Regions from separate parts of the Homo sapiens genome. Here all the other regions are linked to region 1. The links are contacts of gene promoters, found by promoter capture Hi-C in human tissues and cell types (Jung and others, 2019). All regions are on one chromosome and are shown on one strand. The core of a region is centred on a gene start or on the middle of the fragment in contact, and the rest is flanking DNA. Distances in the headings are between cores, read along the strand shown. Region 1 holds the start of OVCH1 (ovochymase 1). Region 2 overlaps IPO8 (importin 8). Region 3 has its middle 140 kb from the start of IPO8.

Region 1 (3,713 bases), core at 736-3,235:
TGGCCTATGGCCTGGCTATTAATGGTGTGTAATTCTTATTGAATGGCTCTTTTTCCACTTAATGGAAAGGCATTATTATGTGAGGCCTGTAAGGGACTAAACCTTTGTATATAAGAATAGGGTCTCAGTTGAAGCTGTGGGTTTTGAACTCTGGAAACAAAGGGAGTTGTTCTGTAACAGGAAATGAGACAGTGCCCCACCGCATGGAGATTCCCAGGTTTGAAACAAAGAAACCACAGAGTATGCTGCAAAGCTGTGTGCCATGGGCAGAAGAGTGAAAGGGGACAGCACCTGTGAGCCTCACGGAAGGGCTGGCCATGGTTTGACCAGCAACTTGAATATTGCTGGCCTGACCGTTCTTGCACAGCACATGTTCACCTTCTAGTCCTTACCCTTTTGTTTAGTAAAGGCTTTTTGGTGGGTTTCATCTTACCTCTTGCTAAAAAGAAAGAGGGCTTTGGGTCCATGTGGGGGCTCTGAGCTTTTATTGGAGAACGGTGTGGCCCTGGAGCTGGCATGGTGGTTCAAATGGTCACCCCTGTGTGATGACTACAGGGAGGAAAGTGGTGAGGGCCACTGTTCAGGTAGCCACACATCTGGACATTCCCTGGACAGTACTGAAGCCTGGAGGTTCAATGTTTTATTTTCACAGAAGAGCTGCTTACCTTAAGAGCATGCTGGACACCCCCTATCCCCTAGACACCCAGGCATGAAACTAAGGAGTCATCTACTCAAACTGTCATCCGAGGTGTCTTTCCTTGAAATAAATACTCAAAAGAAAATAGTGCTACTCTCAAGAACAGCACAGTCCCATAAAACTATTGGTGATGACAGAATGTTCTGTATTTGTGCTGTTCAATATGGTAGCCACTAGCCACAGAGGGTAAATGGACACCTTTTGAAGATGCCACAGCGACAGGCATCATTCACTTTTTTTAGTCTTTTCTTCAAATGGTGTCCATTTACCCTCTGCTCTCTCCTGCAGTCACAGAGGTCATTGTCCCCAGTAGATTGTCACCTGCTTGTACCTGTGCCTGCATTCTCTCCACCTTGACTGCCTTCTGTTTTCCCATCTACCTGCTCATCTCCCACCTGCCCCCATTAGTTTATGTACCCTCCTACCTCAAGAAGCTTTTATTTCTATTTTACATGAAAGTAAAATAGAGCACTTGAACGTAAAATCCTCCAACTGGTGCTGAAGGACTGGTGGCCAGGTTATTTGATATATATGGAATGTCCACTTAGCCTTGCCTTAATTTTCTGACAAAATATAAGACCATTACAAATTCTGGCTTTGTCTTCTAACTTCAGCTTAACTTATTACAAAATAATATTCATGGGAAAAAAAGTGATATCTCACCACTAGATTAATTTTAATCATCTTAAATGATGGATCCTACAGTTTTGGGGCCATTCTGCTGAAATGGAGGACAGTACTGCCACCCAGAAAATGATGTCAGCTCAAGCCTGATCTTTCCTATTCACTCTTTGAAAACTCTAGAGGGTCAAGGGCAACAAGCTTCTTAGAAGGGGCAGTATTGTACTAAGCTTCCTGACCCTCCGCCTTTCAGAAGTCCTGCCTGTGTTTCGTGTGGGGGACCAGCTTCATTGCCCCTGAGCTTGGACCGCACTCCCCAGTCTGGGAATTCGCAGGGCTAAGCGTTCCAGGCCACTGATTGGCTTGCTGTGGATCTGCTAGCAGGAACCTCTGCACACGTGTGAGCACCACTGTCACCCCTTGGGCCACCTCGTGCCAGTCTCTAAGGCTGGGTGGCGGGGCACTGTGACACCAGGGGTGACCAGAGAGCGGCGGCAGCTCACAATGATCAAATGATCGTGAAGAGGGACACCTGCGAACCAAGGCGCCACGGCAGGTGCTGCCCATAGGCACCGCAGGAGGGGATAAAGGGCGAGACCCCCGCCTTCACCACAGTTTTCTCAGCCTGCAGGGAGGGAGGACGTGCGAGGCCGGTGCGTGGAGGCTATGGGCCTGCTGGCCAGTGCTGGTTTGTTGCTGTTGCTGGTCATCGGCCACCCCAGAAGCCTAGGTGAGCCTAGGGACCTGGGCACCAGGACTGCGGAGGAGGCTGAGCGTGCTGGAGAGGGAAGACTTCATTACTCCTTGCCTCAGGAAGTCGGGGTGGTATAGCCACACCTGAGGCATTTGGGAAGAAAGGGTGAGGGGGTGGTGCATGCTCAGATGTCCCCAAAGGAAGGTCTGGGCCAGACTGCCTTTTTGAAATTTTTTGCATTTTAGAGTTCGTTTGTAGGCACACCTGCTAATCATGTGTGTACTAAGGAGCCTCCTCCAAGGAAACCTAACCAAGTAGAAGTAACTTAAAGACAAATATCTCCCTTCCGGAGTAGTATAGGTCATTCCTCAGTATCTTTTGTTTTGTTTGTTTGTTTGAGACAGGGTCTGGCTCTGTCACCCAGGCTGGACTGCAGTGATGCGATCACGGCTCCCTCAAACTCCAGGGCTAATGTGATCCTCCTGCCTCTGCCTCCTGAGTAGCTGGGACCATAGGCACGTACCACCACACTTGGCTAATTTTTACATTTTTTTGTAGAGATGGGGTCTTGTCATGTTGCCCATGGTTCTGACCTCCTGGGTTCAAGTGATCAGCCTACCTGGGCCTCCCAAAGTGCTGGGATTACAGGCGGGAACCACTGCATGTGGCTCCTGGTATCTTTAACACAACCTAAATTTGCATCTTCCCAGAGTAAGCCCCAAGTCACCTACCAGAGGCAGCGCTGGCTCCTTCCTGCCCAGTGGTAACACAGGCTGAAAGGGAGCAGACAGGAGGCAAATTCCGGTCAACCCAGGTGACTGTGGGATATTCTGAAGAAAATATTGAGAGAAGAATGTGGTAGTCTGCAGCTAAGTGCTATCAGAATGTCTGTGCCAGGCCAGGAAAATCCAAATGGGAAATCTTGGTAAAGTGAACTCTTACATAAGGCTCTGTGTGTGCACACACACATGCTCTTCTACACAGGACTGAAGTGTGGAATTCGCATGGTCAACATGAAAAGTAAGGAACCTGCCGTGGGATCTAGATTCTTCTCTAGAATTAGTAGTTGGAGAAATTCAACAGTGACTGGACATCCATGGCAGGTCAGTGCAACAAAGGCATTGATTTCTTAATGAGAAAACAGTGAAATATTTCCTTTGTTTCGAAAGCAAGAATGCACGTTGATATGTAGTTTTTCTCCTGAACCCCTCTAGCTCTCTACCAAAAAGTTTACTTCGTAGGAACTATCTTACTATCCAATTTATGTCGGTATTTTAAGAATATTATGTCAGATTAGAAAAGTTGATCTCCAGTGTTTCCGATGGAGATACATATGTGGGGAGACATATTAGCTGCATTTGTAACTTTCTTCTTGGGTAGGTCTCCCTAAAATCAGATGAGCACCACTTCTGTGGAGGAAGCTTGATTCAAGAAGATCGGGTTGTTACAGCAGCACACTGCCTGGACAGCCTCAGTGAGTAAGTTGTGGATTTCCATTACTTGTCAGGCCTTGATTCCTGGCTATGCGACTGGCAGATTTGTTGCTCTAAATAGCAGGTTCATTCTCAGTCCCTTTCTTACTTTTGCCTCCCAGTGTACCCACCCACTGATCTTCCTGATTCCCAGAAATGTGTGTCTGTCCCAAGATTCCCAGTGCTTCCTGTTCTACTGAATTAAACAATCCCAGACATCATCTATAAT
Region 2 (3,713 bases), core at 721-3,220, 1.2 Mb before region 1:
TAAATCTTTCCAGAAAGATTTTAGGTGTTGTGCCTAAAACAGGATGTGTTATTTTAAATTTCTTTTCAACTTAATTCTAGCAATTCAAACAAACTAGAAGCCAATGTTAATGACTTTGTTTTGTTAGTTTTATGTATTTAAAAAATATTTTATAATTTATTGTTGATGGTTCTTTGGGTGGGAAAAATTACTTTTCTGTTTTTGTCTTTGCTCATGTAGATATAAGAAAGCAGAAGAGAGAGAACCTCTTATAATAGCAATGCAGATATTCCTGCCTCGTATTCAGCAACAAATTGTTCAGCTCCTTCCTGATTCCTCCTATTATTCTGTATTACTGCAGAAACAAATTCTGAAAATCTTTTATGCACTTGTTCAGGTAGGTTTCTATTGCAGAAAACAAACATGGAGTCCTGTATTTCTGCCTGACACATGGAAAGTGCTCAATAAGTGTCACTTATTATTAAAAATTATTTTGTATTATCCCATATATTTCTTTAAAAAATGCTTATGAGGAACAGGTTCACAGAAATTAATTACCCAAGATCGTCTCAATGGCATATCTGCCCCTAAGTGCTTTTCACTCCAGTGTCTGAAATCATGGGTAAAGCAGAACCAGGGTAGGTAAACCTACCTGCTCTAAAACCTGATTACTCGCAACTATCTGTTCTGTAGCATTCCTGCCTATAGATTAGTTATGATTACAAGAGAAGAAGAAGGAAAAGAAGAAGGAAAAGAAGAAGGAAAAGAAGAAGGGAGTCCCTCTTCTATTGGGAAATCATATTGATGGTAGTTTCTTTGCATTTGACTCAAAGCTAACAGAGGATTTAGGGTTCATTTTCCTTGGTTTAAAATACTGCCTAAAAAAAAAAAATCTGAATGCTATAAGGGATACCAACATGGGAATCCGGAAAGAAATGAGAAGATAGAGATGGAATATGTTTGAAATATAAAAATATTTAACATCAAATCCTTGAAAGATTTGGGTAAATTATTTAGGTCTGATTGGAGGAAGAATAATTGTTTTCAGTCTTAACTGTTTGATGAATGAATTAAACTCTATTACATGCTTTCTAGTTGAATTTGTCGTGAGAAGAGGATGGTTTTGTTGAGCTCAAAAACCATGATAGTTTGGATCCATCCTTGGCTTTTTATTGACTTAGATACTTAAACTATTTCAAAATATTTTACTTTAATAAAGATTTATATTTTTATTAAAGCTTCCCCTTTTAAACTTTTAATAGGGATAGTCTGAGGCAGATATTTTTTTTTTTCCCCCAGAGCAGCCTTTTTGCAGGGAAAGAGAAGAGGGAAGGAGGCAAATGTGAGAAGAGAAGAAACTAGAATACTAGGAAAATATGTTCTCTCACTTGTTTTGAAATAATATTCAGAGGCCAGACTTCCTTTTTCTATTGGCAGAAACAGCTAGAAATTGGGAAGTAAGACAAAGGCTAATGAAATAATTTTTCTAAAGCCTCTACCTCTAATTGGTTTGCTAAGACGACAGAATCTTCATATTTTTCTCAGTCTATACTTGCTAAAAACCTGGAAAACCTCAACATTTTTAACCATTTTGGTAATCTGTTATGTACTAATACATTAATATTCTCCTCTGGGAAGTAGAAATTTAGAAGGCATTAGGAGCCACTATTACAATGCTGACATAAGTAAAAAGCGATAATATGAGAAGGAGCAGACAATTTTGTTTTTAAAAGTATGAGCAGCCGGGTGCAGTGGGTCAGGTCTGTAATCCCAGCACGTTGGGAGGCCAAGGTGGGTGGGTCACCTGAGGTCTGGAGTTCAAGACCAGCCTGGCCAACATGGTGAAACCCCATCTCTAGAAAAATACAAAAATTAGCCAGAAATGATGGCGGGTGCCTCTAATTCCAGCTATTCCAGAGGCTGAGGTGAGAGAATTGCTCAAACCCAGGAGGCGGAGGTTGCAGTGATCTGAGATTGCACCATTGCACTGCAGCCTGGGTGACAGAGCGAGACTCCGCCTCAAATAAAATAAAAGTATGATACAACAGATCTTGTCTAAGTAGCATAATATTTGTACAGGACACTTGGATATTCTATACATAAGCTCAGCCTAACCCTCAGCCTACTTCTCCTCTGTTCCCTATATCAAATCCAAATGGCTTCCAAATGCACTTAGAATAAAGTGCATTTGAAACTTCTTAATATAGCCCATAAAGCCCTTCATCTCCTCACCTTCTTCTCTTATTCCTACCTTTGTACATGTACAGTCATGTGTTACTTAACTTTGGGGATGCATTCTGAGAAAATGCATTGTTAAGTAATTTTTGTCCCTCTGTGAACATTGTAGAGTGTACTTACACAAACCTAGATGCTATAGCCTACTACATACCTAGGCTGTGTGTTGCTCCCTGGCTGCAAACCTGTACATGTTACTGTACCAAATACTGAAAGCAGCTGTAACTCAATGGTAAGTAATAGAAAAGATATGCTAAAAATGCAGTATAAGATATTTTTTAAAAAGCACTCCTGTATAGGGTACTTACCATGAATGGAACTTGCAGGACTGGAAGTTGCTGTGGGTGAGGTAGTAGTGAGTGAATGTGAAGGCCTAGGACGTTAGTCTATGCTTATAAATGTTGAACATTTAGGCTACACTAAATTTATAAAATTTATCTGCAATAATAAATTAACCCTAGCTTAGCTTACTGTAACTTTTTTACTTCATAAACTTTAAATTTTTTTTTTTTTTTTTTTGAGATGGAGTCTCCCTCTGTCGCCCGGGCTGGAGTGCAGTGGCACAATCTCGGCTCACTGCCACCTCCGCCTCCCGGGTTCAAGCAGTTCTCCTGCCTCAGCCTCGATTTACAGGCGCCTGCCACCATGCCTGGCTAATTTTTTGTATTCTTAGTAGAGACGGGGTTTCACTGTTTTGGCCAGGCTGGTCTCAAACTCCTGACCTCATGTTCCGCCTGCCTTGGCCTCCCAAAGTGCTGAGATTACAGGCGTGAGCCACCACGCCTGGCCAAACTTTAAAATTTTTAACTTTTTGACTCTGTTGTACTAACACTTAGTTTAAAATATTAACATGTTGTACAACTGTACAATAATATTTTCTTTATATCCATATTTTAAAAGGTTTTATATTTTAGAATTTTATTTTTTTTCAAACTTTTTCATTAAAAACTAAGACACACACACATTAGCCTAGGCCTATGCAGGGTCAGGATCATCAATATCACTGTCTTCCACTTCTGTATTCTGTCCTGCTGGAGTGTCTTCATTTCAGGGGCAATAACATGCATGGAGCTGTCATCTATGATAACAATGCCTTCTGGAATACTCCTGAAAGACCTACCAGAGGCTGTTTTAGATAACTTAAAAAAAAAAGTAGAAGGAGTACACTCTAATGATGAAAAGTATTGTGTAGTAAAAATATAAACTAGTAGCATAGTTGTCATTACCAGTTACGTACTGTATAAAATTGCTATACTTTATACAGCTGGCAATTCAGTAGGTTTGTTTGCACCAGCATCACCACAAATATTTGAGTAATGCATTGTGCTGTGACTTTAAGATGGTTACTATGTCACTAGGCGATAAGAATCTTTCAGCTGTGTTCTAATCTTATGGGACCATTGTTGTATATGCAGTCTGTCACTGACCGAAACATTTGTTATGTGGTGCATGACTTTATATACATTTTTTCCAGTTAGAGTGTAAGCTTCGTGAGGGCA
Region 3 (3,713 bases), core at 365-2,864, 1.1 Mb before region 1:
TTGATTTTTATGAAGTCCAATGTCTATTTTTCTTTTCTTTTTAAAAAAACATATTTTAAGTTCAGGGGTAGAGGTACAGGTTTATTACATATGTAAATATGTCATAAGAGTTTGTTGCATAGATTATTTCATCACTCAGGTATTAAGCCTAGTACCCATTAGTTATTTTTCCTGATCTTCTCCCTCCTCCTACCCTCCACCCTCTGATAGGCCCCAGTGTGTGTTGTTACTCTGCATGTGTCCATGTGTTCTCATCATTTAGCTCCCACTTATGAGAACATATGTATGTGCTTTTCTGTTTCTGTGTTAGTTTGCTAAGGATAATGGCCACCAGCTCCATCTATGTCCCTGCAAAGGACATGATCTTGTTCTTTTTTATGGCTGCATAATATTCCATCCCATATATGTACCACATTTTCTTTATCCGATCTATCATTGATGGGCATTTGGGTTGATTCCATGTCTTTGCTATTGTGAATAGTGCTGCAGTGAGCATGTGTGTGCATGTGTCTTTATAATGGAATGATTTGTTTTCCTTTGGGCATATACCCAGCAATGGGATTGCTGGGTCAAATGGTATTTCTATCTTTAGGCCTTTGAGGAATTGCCACACTGTTTTCCACAATGGTTGAAGCAATTTACATGTCCACCAACAGTGTATAAGCGTTCCTTTTTCTCCACAACCTCACCAGCATTTGTTATTTTTTGACTTCTTAGCAATAGCCATTTCGATGGTTGTAAGATGGTATCTCATTGTGGTTTTGATTTGCATTTCTCTAATGATCAGTGATGTTGAACTTCTTTTTCATATGCTTGTTGGCTACATGTATGTCTTCTTTTGAGAAGTGTCTGTTCATGTCCTTTGCCCACTTTTTAATGGGTCTGTTTGTTTTTTTTCTTGTAAATTTGTTTAAGTTTCTTATAGATGCCAGATATTATAACTTTGTCAAATGCCTAGTTTGCAAAAATTTTCTCCCATTCTGTTGGTTGTCTGTTTATATATTTTTCTTTTGTTACCTGTGCCTTTGTTACAATATCCAAGAAATTATTGCCAAATCCAATGCCATGGAGCTTTTCCTGAAAAAAAAATTTCGATCCTGGAAAAAATTTACATCATTATTGACTCCTCATTAAGAATCTTAACATTGCTGGGTGTGGTGGCTCACGCCTGTAATCCCAGCACTTTGGGAGGCCAAGGCGGGCAGATAATTTGAGGTCAGGAGTTCGAGACCAGCTTGGGCAACATGGTGAAACCCTGTCTCTACTTAAAAAAAATACAAACATTAGCTAGGCACAGTGGCATGCACCTGTAGTCCTAGCTATTTGGGAGGCTGAGTCAGGAAAATCGCTTGAACCTGGGAGGCAGAGGTTGCAGTGGGCCGAAATCATGCCACTGCACTCCACTCCAGTCTGGGTGACAAAGTGAGACTCTATCTCTCCCCCTCCCCGCAAAAAAAAGAAAGAAAAGAAAAATCCTAAAATTATTGTCTAGGGACAGTTCAACATCAATTTAGTAACATCTTTTATTTAATCATAATGTGGTCATCTGGCTTGTGCTTAAGTATCTCCATGACAAGATGCTGAATGTTCTTAAAAGAAGATTGGATCATTAATGAAAGAAAGTCTATAAAGACTGGAAATCCTTTATTTTAAGCTGAAATGTTTATTCCTCCTGTATCCACTATCAGCTTTAGTTTTATACCAAATCTATTTAGAGCAACACAAAATAAATTTCTGTTGCCACAATAAATGTCTTCAAATATTCGAAGAGCATTATCCACCCCTCTCCAAGTTTTTTTCTTTTTGGTCCACGCTTTTATTGTGTTAGTTTCATTAAAAGAGCTAAATAATAAAAAAACTGTGCTATTAAAAGAAATGATTAAACTTGCAGGGTATGTATTCTTGGAGTAATTAATATTTAACCAGAGAAGGAGTATAGTGTAGTAATTAAATCTATGGGCTAAAATCCTGACTGTGTCACTTATTAGCTTGTGATGTTGGGCCTGTTACTTAATCTTCTTGTGTCTTAGTTTATTTGTAAGATGAGGATAATAATATTATCTAACTTATAGGGTGGTTATCAACATTTAATTAGTTAATACATATAAAGCTGTTAGAATAGTGCCTGTCACGTAGTAAGTACCCAACACATTTTAGCTGTTATTATTAACTCAAATATATTTATCCTCCATGTAAGACTATTTGATCCATTGGTCAATCAGCAAGTGCCTTTTTTTTAAGTCCTTATAATTTTAGTAACATGTTTACATATGTATATATGCATATAGTATATATTTATAAATTTATTATAAAATTATGTTAGTAAAAAAACTTAAGAAGGTCGATGTTGAAAATTTTTACCAGATGAGAGAATATCCAGATAACTTCAATCTGAAATTTGGCATTGTTGTCTCTATTGAGGGTTCAACCTCAATTTACTTTCTCCAAATTTCTTTGCATTTATTTTTCAAAAGTCACTTGTTCATTTTCAGACATAATTTTGTAACTTGAAGTTTTGTCCAAAATATAATTGGCATGACTTTAAGACATCATAGAGCCCAAGGAGTGGCTTTGCCCAATAAAAGGAAAACATACGGTGCCTCTATTTGTAAGTGTTTATCAATGAGCAAAATATGTATACTTTTTATTTTTAATGCTGTGGATATAAAACACCTACTGGATGCAAGACATAGTGTTTTAAACAGAAAGAATCAGTCTTTCTTCTTAAAGAACTTCCAGTGCAGTGGAAGATATAAAACATTGTTATAGAGAGACCTAACACCACAATTCAACAGATTGTGACTTTCAAATGATGGATATAGACAGTATTTAAAGAGTTCTGCAGAAGCAAGCTCAAAGTGGCTGGGGTAGTCAGGGAAAGCTTCCCAAGAAAGGAAGAAACAAGGTGCAGCTTCATGAATGAGCAGTGGTCAAGCCAGGGTGGGGTGGGCTGTTCCAAGAACATGAACAGGCACAGAGGTAGCAATGCCCAAAACATATTCAGGCGCTGCTGAGCTAGAAGACAGGGTTTTTGTAGGCAAACAGAAAGGGAAAACTGAAAATGATAATCCTGAGATACTGTGGGTCCCTGAATAATAAAAAACTGAAGGCTCAATTATGAAACCAAATTTAAAACATAATGTCAGTTAACCAAAAGATACATTAGATAAACCTGTCAATGATGTTAGATTTTACTGTATATGTTTAAAGATTAAAGGAATATTAATTCATAAATGTAATGTCTTGACTCAATTAAATGTTCATGCTTCAAGAGTTTTGTCAAGATTTTGCTTTCTTAGTTTCTTTTTGTGAACCAAAGCTCAGATATGACTTCAGCGTCGTTTGATTTCAGCCAGAATGCCTGCAGAGGTTGCAAATTAAGACAGAATGAAAGCAGACTAAAGGAAAACCTGCTAAAACAATAAGATTTATAATTCTTATTCCTATGTATTAGCTGGCACAGTCTGTGAAATAGTATAGTGGGGTGAGCATCAAAACACTCGCATTCTTTATTCTTGTTGACTTTCTCATTGAGCACTGATGTAGTCCTAATAATGCTCCTATAATCTAGGTTTCCTATTTATAGATTCATGACAATGAAATGTCCCTGATCACTGTGCAGCAAGGTTGTGTGAAAGAAATATTTGAAAGAAAACGCATTTGGGGTCAGCTTTGGCCTGCTCTGGACCTCTCCAACAGCCCTGTCAGGTTCC

Evidence for each region. The method cuts DNA at HindIII sites, captures the fragments that hold promoters and counts their contacts. A contact is called where the count stands out against the background at its distance.
Region 2: a contact is called between a fragment that was not itself captured here and the fragment with the promoter of OVCH1 in region 1, in 1 of the 25 tissues and cell types used here (dorsolateral prefrontal cortex).
Region 3: a contact is called between a fragment that was not itself captured here and the fragment with the promoter of OVCH1 in region 1, in 1 of the 25 tissues and cell types used here (H1 embryonic stem cells).

Annotation. Positions count from the first base shown.
Region 1 is chr12:29,495,958-29,499,670 of GRCh38, reverse strand. It overlaps OVCH1 (ovochymase 1), which reads left to right and starts at 1,985. Exons shown (of 26, transcript NM_001353179.2): 1 at 1,985-2,048; 2 at 2,997-3,115; 3 at 3,393-3,490. The coding sequence starts at 1,985. The HindIII fragment of the contact is 2,638 bases long and covers 1,326-3,713 here.
Region 2 is chr12:30,677,145-30,680,857 of GRCh38, reverse strand. It overlaps IPO8 (importin 8), which reads left to right. Exons shown (of 25, transcript NM_006390.4): 5 at 220-376. Among named protein-coding and RNA genes, the nearest start is that of IPO8, 17 kb to the left of the region's middle. The HindIII fragment of the contact is 4,132 bases long and covers 1-3,713 here.
Region 3 is chr12:30,552,273-30,555,985 of GRCh38, reverse strand. No RefSeq gene overlaps it. Among named protein-coding and RNA genes, the nearest start is that of IPO8, 140 kb to the left of the region's middle. The HindIII fragment of the contact is 6,980 bases long and covers 1-3,713 here.